Linked DNA regions of Homo sapiens: region 2 is linked to region 1. Evidence: promoter capture Hi-C in human tissues and cell types (Jung and others, 2019). All regions are on one chromosome and are shown on one strand. The core of a region is centred on a gene start or on the middle of the fragment in contact, and the rest is flanking DNA. Distances in the headings are between cores, read along the strand shown.

What was found. The method cuts DNA at HindIII sites, captures the fragments that hold promoters and counts their contacts. A contact is called where the count stands out against the background at its distance.
Region 2: a contact is called between a fragment that was not itself captured here and the fragment with the promoter of AIP in region 1, in 2 of the 25 tissues and cell types used here (lymphoblastoid cells and spleen).

What each region holds. Positions count from the first base shown.
Region 1 is chr11:67,479,826-67,485,050 of GRCh38, reverse strand. AIP (AHR interacting HSP90 co-chaperone) reads right to left here and starts at 2,025. Exons shown (of 6, transcript NM_003977.4): 1 at 1,794-2,025. The coding sequence starts at 1,892. RefSeq lists an enhancer at 2,124-2,183. The HindIII fragment of the contact is 17,225 bases long and covers 1-2,523 here.
Region 2 is chr11:67,690,948-67,696,172 of GRCh38, reverse strand. No RefSeq gene overlaps it. Among named protein-coding and RNA genes, the nearest start is that of ALDH3B2, 19 kb to the right of the region's middle. The HindIII fragment of the contact is 4,464 bases long and covers 258-4,721 here.

The DNA of each region.
Region 1 (5,225 bases), core at 776-3,275:
AGGGGTGGACCTCACAGGGCCTGTAGGCTATGGTGAGGCCTCTGTTTTTCACTCTGTGATGGAAGCCACTGAGTGGCTCCGAGCAAAAAAGGAATTGAATCTGGCATGGGCTCGGCTGCTGGGACGAGAACAGACCACAGAGGGACAAAAGAGGCAGGAGAGTTAGAGGTCGCTGCAGTAACCCAGGCTGGAGATGAGGATGGCCTGGACCCAAGCAGTGATGGCAGAAGTGGTGAGAACTCAGATCCTGGCTGGATATTGAGGATGTGATGTTGGATGTGAGACTGGGAGGACCACAGAGATGCTAAGGTTTTTGCCCTGAACAACGGGAAGGTTGTTGGTTCCCCTGACACGGAGAAGCCTCAGGTGGAGCAGGTTAAGTGTGAGTTGCCAACCAGGCTTCCAGGTGGATATGGTGAGTAGGGAGCTATATATCAGGTTTAAGAGACAGTTAATGACTGGAGAGCTGCATCTGGGAGTAATCCGGGCAGGGAGAGTTTTTAGAGATAACACTGGGGGTGGGTGCAGAGAAAAGAGGTTTGGAGATTGAACTCTCGACAGGATATGGTTAGAGGAGCCCACGCTCTTAACTGCCGCACCATGCTGCATCTCTGAAGTCAGTTTCCACATCGGTAAAACGGAATCAACAACAGTACCTATCTCACATTGTAGGAAATAAACGTGTGAAGCATGTAGCACAATGTTCGAATAGTGAGCACTCAATCAGTGCTGGCGATTGGTTATTTAACACCACCTGTTTCTGATCTTGGGGTGCCATTGTTCACATCTCTCCTTCTGATGTCTGTTCCATCCAGGATCCCCCTTGCCAGCCCCTTCTTCCAACGCCACCAACCCCCCAGCACATGGGGGCATGAACCCACACCACACATCCTGTCTCTTCTTAGAGAAGATATCTTTTCATACAGCGGATCACTCCAGCCATGCAGCTCCCCTCTGCTCTCAGGGCACTTATACTGCACTGGGCTAGGATGCTTAGCTGCCCGATTCGGCACGGTGCTGGCCAGGGGGCATGTGCTCATTTGCTCAATGTGCATGTCCTGCCTGACTGCTCTGCTGGGCACAGGGGCTGCCCCTGGGAGGTTCCCTACTCTGCAAACAAGTGGCAGCTGGGAAAAGCACTCCGGGAGGAGGCAACTACAGGAGAAGCAGGGAAGCCTGGAGTTGTAGGTTGGGGGAGAAGCGGGCAGAGGGGCTGGATCTGGGGGCCTGGCAAAAAGGAGAAAAGTGGGAGGTTCTTTACTTCCCAACCCTCATCTGTCCCAACAAGCCCCTAGTGCAGCAGGAAGGCTGCTAAAGAGTCCCTGTCTGGGAGACCTGACCTCTGGGCCCGTTCTCCGGCTTTGCACGTCCCAGGGTCTTGGTTTTCCACTCTAAACAGCGGCAGTTGGTCTAAGTGTTTTCAGAAGGCCCTTCCATCTACAAAGGATCATGAGCCTTGAAACCCAGATACCCGAGGACCACTCCCGGCCCTGGGTTTCCTCCAGCGTGGGGTCTGCCCAAGCACTGAGATCAACCCCCAACCCCAACCCGCTTGTGATGACTGACGGCCTCCCCCACCAATGCTGCTACAAGGCCGAGCCAGGGGGCGGGGCAGACAGGCCCGAATTCACCCCCTACTTAAATTCAGCCCAATCAGCGTCGAGTTCTGCATGTGAGCGGTAGGGGCAGTGGACGCTGCCCTCTGGGCATGCGCAACCTCTCGCCTAAGGCCTCCTCCCGCCTCGCATGCGCACCACGCCGCAGAGGGGGAGAAGGGTAGGGTAGACACGAACCTTGGTCCCATCTTGAAAGTCCGGGAGCTCTCCTCGGCCTTCCTGTATCACACGTTTTTGGATCCCGTCCTCCCGGAGTCTTGCGATGATATCCGCCATCCTCCTTCCCCGCTGCTCCCTTTCGGCAACTTCCGGACTCGCTCGGTAGCTTCCGGACTTGCTTCGGCAACTCCTAGCACCTCGGCAGCTTCCGAGCTAGCGCCATTTTGGTTGAGGGCAGAAGCCAAAAGGGACTGAGCGTGGAAACGGATGGTGATTGGTTCTCTGCGCTGGGGCTGAGCGCGCGCGTCTGCTCGGGGGCGGAGCCTAGGAATGTCTCGGGGCTGGACCCCAGCCTGTCAAGGAGGAAGGGCCGGGGTCCGCGGGCCGGGCGGGACGAGGACGTCCCTAACAATTGTCATTGAATTGATTGGGACTGCGGCCGTGTGGCACTTTGTTTGAAGTTGTGGATGGAATATAACAGCACTGCAGAGTTAGGAAAATGAAAAAAAAAAAAAACACCCGTAAGCCACACCCTCAAAGTGTTATGATTTTTGTGTATTTTCTTCCGGCTTTTTCTCTTTCGCATATCTAGTATGATTGTCGGGACTCTTGCATCCTGGATCTTCCTCTTTCAAAAAATAAAAAGAGGAAGAGGGAAAGAAAGGTGGAGAAGGAGACCAAGAGAGCCCATTGCGGGGTCGGAAATGAGTCATAGTTGTGCCCAATTAATATTAGGGAATAATCGATGAATGATAGAAATGAGGTACTTTAGCGCCGGGCGCGGTGGCCCTGTAACCCCACCACTTTGGGAGGCCGAGGCGAGAGGATCGCTTGAGCCCAGGAGTTCGAGGCTGCAGTGGGCCGTGTTCGTGCCACTGCACTCCAGGCTAGCCGACAGAGCGAGATGCTGTCTCAAAACAAAACAAAAAAAAAAAATTAAATTAAAAGAAAAGAGAAATGAGGTACTTTGGGGCTAAAACAACTTTTGTTTTTCTTTTTTTGAGACGGAGTCTCGCTCTGTCACCCACGCTGGAGTGCAGTGGCACAATTTCAGCTCACTGCAAGCTCTGCCTCCCGGGTTCACGCCATTCTCCTGCCTCAGCCTCCCGAGCAGCTGGGACTACAGGCGCCCGCCACCATGCCCGGCTAATTTTTTGTATTTTTAGTAGAGACAGGGTTTCACCGTGTTAGCCAGGATGGTCTCAATCTCCGGACCTCGTGATCCGCCCACCTCGGCCTCCCAAAGTGCTGGGATTACAGGCGTGAGCCACAGCGCCCAGCTGATATGAAACATTCTAAATAAAATACTAGGCTAATTGAATTCACTAATGTCATGTAAAAATGCATCAGTATGGGGCAGGTGTGGTGGCTTATGCCTCTAATACCAGCACTTTGGGAGGCCAAGGCAAGTGGATCTCCTGGATCTCCTTGAGCTCACAAGTTCAAGACCAGCCTGGACAACATGGCAAAATACCATCTTCACCAAAAATACAAAAAATTAGGTGGTGTGGTGGTGCACGCCTGTGGTCCCAGCTACTCAGCAGGCTGAGGCTGGAGGATTGCTTGAGCCCAGGAGATGGAGGTTGTAGTGAGCCAAGATCGCACCACTGCACTCCAGCCTGGGTGATAGAGTGAGACCCCATCTCAAAAAAAAAAAAAAAGCATCAATATGCTAAGTGAAATAACAGTACCAGTCACATACAGGAAAATACTGTATTATTCTACTTATGTAAGGTACCTAGAGTAGTCAGATTCACAAAGACAGAAAGCAGGGCCGGGCGCGGTGGCTCACACCTGTAATCCCAGCACTTTTGGAGGCCAAGGCAGGCAGATCACCTGAGGTCAGGAGTTTGAGACCAGCCTGGCCAACATGGAGAAACCCCATCTCTACGAAAAATACAAAAATTAGCTGGGTATGGTGGCACGTGCCTGTAATCCCAGCTACTCGGGAGGCTAAGGCAGGAGAATCGCTTGAACCCAGGAGGCAGAAGTTGCATTGAACCAAGATCGCGCCACTGCACTCCAGCCTGGGCGACAGAGCAAGACTCCATCTCAAAAAAAAAAAAAAATGACAGCAGAATGGTGATTGCCAAGGGCTGGGGGCAGGGGGGTGGGAAATGGAGACTTGTTCTTTGATGAGTGTAGAATTTCTGTTTTGAAAGACGAAACTGTTCTGGAAATTGGTTGCATAACAGTGTGCATATACTTAACGCCACTGAGTATACACTTCAAAACGGTTGAGATGGTAAATTTTATGTTATGTTATGTGTATTTTACCACAATTAAGAATAATTTTTTTGCCGGGCGTGGTGGCTCACGCCTGTAATCCCGGCTCTTTGGGAGGCTGAGGCAGGTGGATCACCTCAGGTCAGAAGTTCAAGACCAGCCTGGTCAACATGGTGAAACCCCGTCTCTACTAAATATACAAAAATTGGCCAGGCGTGGTGGCGGGCACCTATAATCCCAGCTACTCAGGAGGCTGAGGCAGGAGAATCGCTTGAACCCGGGAGGCAGAGGTTGCAGTGAGCCGAGATTGCACCATTGCACTCCAGCCTGGGCAACAAGAGCGAAACTTCATTCCAAAAAAAAAAAAGAATAATTTTTTTTTCCGGGCTGGCACGGTGGCTCACGCCTGTAATCCCAGCACTTTGGGAGGCCGAGGCGGGCAGATCACGAGGTCAAGAGATCAAGACCAGCCTGACCAACATGGTGAAACCCCGTCTCTACTAAAAATATAAAAATTAGCCAGGCGTGGTGGCAGGCGCCTGTAATCCCAGCTACTCAGGGAGACTGAGGCAGGAGAATCGCTTGAACCCAGGAGGTGGAGGTTACAGTGAGCCGAGATCACACCACTGCACTCCAGCCTGATGACAGATCGAGACTGTCTCAAAAAAAAAAAAAAGAATTTTTTTTCCAAAGAAAATGCATGAAGATCAAGTAGAGTTTATTCCAAGAATGTAAGAATGGTTCAACATTATAAACATCTATTACTGTAATTCACCACGTCGGTTAACTAAAGGAGAAAATGCATATGGTTATCTCAAAATATGCAGAAAAAGCATTTTATGAACTTCTGTGACTATTTATGATAAAAACTCACAGTTAGGAACAAAGAGGAATTTTCTCAGGTTGATAAAAGCTGCATACAATTAAGTATGATGGAATAAGTATCCACAATTTCTTCAAGATCAGGAACAAGGCAATGATGCTCTCTAGGAATGATGCTGATCAGTAAGTGTTAGAAGTCCTGCCTAGAATCCCAGCACTTTGGGAGGCTGAGGCAGGAGGATAGCTTGAGCCCATGAGTAACAACTTGGGCAAGATAGCAAGACCCAGTCTTTACAAAAAGAAAAAAAGAAAGAAAATTAGCTGGGCATAGTGGCACATGCCTGTAGTCCCAGCTACTAAAGAGGCTGAGGCAGGATGATCCCTTGAGCCCAGGAGATCGAG
Region 2 (5,225 bases), core at 1,240-3,739, 210 kb before region 1:
AATCATAAATGTTATTGATATCTTTTCTCAGAACTAACTTTCTTCAAGTTTCTTATTTTATAGTAATACCTCTCTGTTATGCCTTATGTAGCAAATGTAACAGAATAAGCATACTCTGACTTCAATATCTATGTTAAACATGCTCACAGGCACGTAGTACATTCTACGTCCTTGTACCTTAGTCAAAATATTCGTGCTGGACGTGTCCAGGCATTTCCCAGATTGCAGCGTACACTCCTCCCTTATTTGGGAATATTATTACTTTTCTAAGTCCTTTCCTAAGCAACTTCCTTTTTTTCCTTCGTTCCTCCCTGCCTTTACCTATTTAAAAAAGTTTAAACTGTTAGCCAATCGGGTTTTAGTTTAGGTGGTAAGGTCTGGCTCCAGCCAGTGACATGGCAATAGGGACCTCATGCGTAAGGGATAAATATTCTAGTGCCTTTTTTATTTTGTATGCGATCGTGGCAGGATTGCGGACGGGCAGCACTCTTTCTGCAGAAGGTAAAAATCACCTTGCTGAGGAAGCTTTTCGTCTGCTGATTCTTCTTTGTGACATCGGGGAATAAGGATTTATTTCTAACAGTCTTGGGGGCTCGTCTGGGATCACCCAGTCTCCTTCGGGTCGGGGTCTCTGATTCCCGCCCCCCCACCAAGGGGAGGCGCCCCACTGCCTTACTGCGGTGGCCTCAGGGACTGGGAATCCGGACTTACCTGTTGTGATGAATAAACCCGGACCCTCAGCAACGTGGAAAACGGCGAATAGGCTTGCATTGCACTGCCTCGGGGACCAGATAAACTCTGTTCACAGAGCAAAGTAAAGAAACGTCGCAAGGGTGCGACAAAGTACTTGCTTGGTGGTCGGGATATTCTGGAGGTTAAAAGTGTGTGTGAATAGTCACAAGCCTCACTGCAGCTGGTGTTGCTTGTGTAAATCATGATAAGTCCTACTGCTGGACCGAGCGAGTGAGTCTTGCCTGCGGTTCCGTGGCTACCTCATACGGCTTAAGGCGGATCTTGCCTTGGGGTTTATACCGGCACGCCAATGCTAAGAGGGGCCTAAATTCCCGTGAGGAAAGTGGCCAGGTAGGACAAAGCGAGTGAAGAGTGTAAAAAGCCTCCAGAAAGAAAAAGAGGAGTTAAATCCTCCTCAGGGAAAACGAAACCTCAAGCACGTTAAGGTTAAAAATATAAGCAAGCCAGGAAAAAACAGGATAGACAAGAAATCTCTAGGATTAAGAGGTTAAGTCTACCTGATATTCAATATGGGAAAGGTTTCTAGTAAATCGGGGGCAAAAAAAGATGCAAGTTATCAAATCCCTCCCGATAGTCCTTTAAGGCTCATGTTAAAGTATTGGAAAGATAATAAAAAAACTAAATTTAAAAAAAGCAGCAGATAATTAAGTATTGTTGCTTTATTTGGACTAAAAAGCCAATTCTCAAGCCAGCGGTTTTTTGGTCAAAATTTAGGTCAGATAAAGATTAAATCTGTCAACTTTTAATAATATATGTTTATAGCAAAAGTCCTGTGTCACAAGAAAAATTGATTATGCTTTATGCTAGCGGCAAGGGCCTATATTATTCTTTATCCTTTAAAAACGATCAAAGGGGGACTAGAAAATAAAAAACAGTCAAAAATGGCCTTATCTAATAAGAGATAGGACCCTCTAGACCACCTTCCCCCGTTTCTTAATAACCTGCTGACACCTCCCCAGGTAGCTGCTGCTGTCCTAGATCCCCTTCTGGACCTGATCCCTGACCCAGCTGCCACTCCAGGCCCCCCTGCCACTCCAGGCCCCCCTGCCACTCCAGGCCTCCCCCATATAACCCAGATTCTTGTGAATCCCAGGAGCCTAAAAATTCTAAATATCCTTCTTTAAAGAAAAGACTCCAACAAAAATTAAAACAATGTAAGAAGGATATTCAGAATTTCCCTTTTCCTGCCCCCCAAAAAAGTTAACTTCAACATTCTTTCCTTTAAGGAAAGTTCCCCAAGGAGGAGAAGCTATTGGTTTTGTGGATGCTCCCCTTACTGGGTCTGAAGTTTGGAGTATAAAAAGAGAACTAAAGCCACTGTTAAATAATCCTAACAGGGTGGCAGATCAAATTGATCAGTTTTTAGGCCCACAGTTATATACTTGGGCTGAATCAGTGTGCATCCTAGGTATTATTTTTTCAAGGAAAAAAAGAAATACGATCTGGGAACGTAAACATCCTCCAGGTCAAAATGTTCTGGCAGCAAATCATAAATTCCCTGCTCAGGACCCGCAGTGGGATAAAATAATGCTGCCCACCGAAATAATATAAGGAATTTTTTAAAAAATAATAATCAGGGGGATTCAAAAGTCAGCACCCAGACCCCAAAACCTTTCCAAAGCATTTAATGTCCAACAAAAGAAAGATGAAGGACCTATGAGGTTCATAGATAAATTAAAAGAACAAATAAAAAAAATGCTAACTTAGACCCAGAAAGCCCTCTTGGGCAAGGAATGTTAAAACTGCACTTTGTTACTCACAGTTGGCCAGACATTACTAAAAAGTTACAAAAATTAGAAAATTTAAAAAATCAATAAAAAAGTTATTTAAAAAGGCTCAAAAACTATATGTAAAAAAATAAGGAAAGACAAAGGCAAAAAGCAAAAATCTTTTGGCAAAATTCACTAGTCTCTGGCAGACGATGCCAGAGACCAGATCTAGACCTGGGCCTATAAAATTCTCTAGGGGAGGCAAAAGGAAAAAGTTTAGGAATTCAAAAATGCAAAACAAAAAAAGAAGGCAAGGTCAGTATTTATTTTTTTAAACTAATTTATTAATTTATTAATTTATTTATTTATTTTGAGATGGAGTCTCACTCTGTCACCCAGGCTGGAGTGCAGTGGTGCGATCTCGGCTAGCTCCGCCTCCCAGGTTCACGCCATTCTCCTGCCTCAGCCTCCTGAGTAGCTGGGACCACAGGCCCACGCCACCACACCCAGCTAATTTTTTGTATTTTTAGTAGAGACGGGGTTTCACGTGTTAGCCAGGACGGTCTGGATCTCCTGACCTCGTGATCTGCCCGCCTCGGCCTCCCAAAGTGCTGGGATTACAGGTGTGAGCCATCGCGCCCGGCCAGGTCAGTATTTTAGAAAAAAATGTCAAAGTAAGTGTCATAGGAGCTGTGGATGTGAAAATAAAGAGGAGAAGCAAAGAAGCTTTGGGCTTGGTAGGGAGGAAGGAAAAGACAGATGTTACAGATGCGGGAGACCAGGTCGTTTTAAAAGGGAATGTCCCAAGTTAGAAAAGGCAGAAAAAGCTCCCCCACTTGTGACCACTTTTAAAGAAGAATAGGGGGGTCAGGGGCTCTGACTTTTCTATTTTGAGTCCCACCAAGAGCCCTTGATAAATTTAGAGGTGGGACCCAGACATAAATTAATCACCTTTTTAGTCGACTCAGGAGAAGCCCATTCACCTGTCTGTTTTCCTTCAGCTCATTTAGTTTGTTCCCCAAAGGAATTAACAGTTTCTGGGGTTAAAGGGGAAGGATTCAAGGCAAAAGTTTTAGAAAATACAGAAGTTAAATATATAAATTGATTAGTTTATATACAATTTTTATTAATTCCTAAAGCAAAAGCCAATTTGTTAGAAAGAGATTTAACGTTAAAGTTAGGTATAGGTTTACAAGTTAGTCCAAAAGGTTTCCTAACCTCTTTAAATTTGTTAGCTATAGCAGATAAAAAATACATTCATCCAGCTGTCTGGTCAAGGGAAGGTAATCAGGGAAATTTACAGATTCCTCCAACACATGTTCAGTTAAAGACTCCAGGGGAAATAGTAAAAAGAAAGCAATACCCTATTCCTTTAGAAGGAAGAATAGGGTTAAAGCCTGTAATCAAAAGACTTATTAAAGATGGGCTATTGAACCTTCTATGTCTCCATACAATACTCCAATGTTACCAGTCAAAAAAATCAGATGAATCATACCAATTAGTGCAAAATCTTAGAGCTATCAATCAAATAGTTCAAACCACTCATCCTGTTGGGCCTAACCCCTACACTATTCTTAGTAAAATTCCATATAGTCATCAGTGGTTCACAGTAATAGACTTAAAAGATACATTTTAGGCATGTCCTTTGGCTAAAGACAGCCAAAATATATTTGCCTTTGAGTGGGAGGACCCCTATTTAGGCAAAAGCAACAATACAGGTGGACAGTTTTTACCCCAAGGATTTACAGATTTTCCCAATCTTTTTTGTCAAGTATTTAAAAAAAATTATTGTCCCAAAACAGTTATGCTTTCTTCAATATGTAGATAATATTCTTACATCTAAGGAAGAGATAGAAAAGGTAGCTGGACTTTCTACAAAAGTTCTTAACCACCTACAAGATAAAGGGTTATGGGTTTCAAAAGAAAAGCTTCAATATGTAGAACCTAAAGTTAAATATCTAGGCCATTTAATAAGTGCAGATAAAAGAAAAATAAGACCCCCCAAAATTGAGAAAATCATGTCTCTACCCTTGCCCCGAACCAAACAAGAACTTAAAAAATTCCTGGGATTAGTTGGGTACTGTCGTTTATGGATGGACTCATATGCATTAAAAAGTAAGCTCTTATATAAGAAATTAACTAAAGAGGAAACGCATCCCCTTATATGGACTTCTAAAGAAGTTAATCAAGTGGAGAAATTAAAAGAAAGACTCATCACTGCTCCCATCCTAGCCTTACCCTCTTCAGAAAATCATGTCATCTTTTTGTGAATGTAGACAATAGAGTAGGGTGGTCACTAAAGAACATGGAGGCGGTCAACAACCAGTAGCCTTTCTATCAAAAGCATTAGATCCAGTTGCCAGTAGATGGCCTCCGTGTATTCAGTCTCTAGCAGCCACAGCAATACTAGTTGAAGAAAGTAAGAAATTAACTTTTGAAGGGTACCTAACAGTGAGCACCCCTCACCAAGTTAAGGTGATCCTAAACCAAAAAGCTGGGAGATGGCTTACTGATTCTAGAATCTTAAAATATGAGGCTATTCTATTAAAAAAAAAGATGATTTAACAGATAATTCCTGAAATCCAGCAAGCTTCTTAACAGGAAACCTACTGCTCAAAAAAAGAACATTTGTGGTTAGATTTAATTGACTATCATACAAAAGTTAGGCCAGATTTAGTAGAGACCCCTTTTAAAACAGAGCGACATCTATTTATAGATGTCTCCTCCCGGGTAATTGAAGGGACATGACATAATGGATATGCT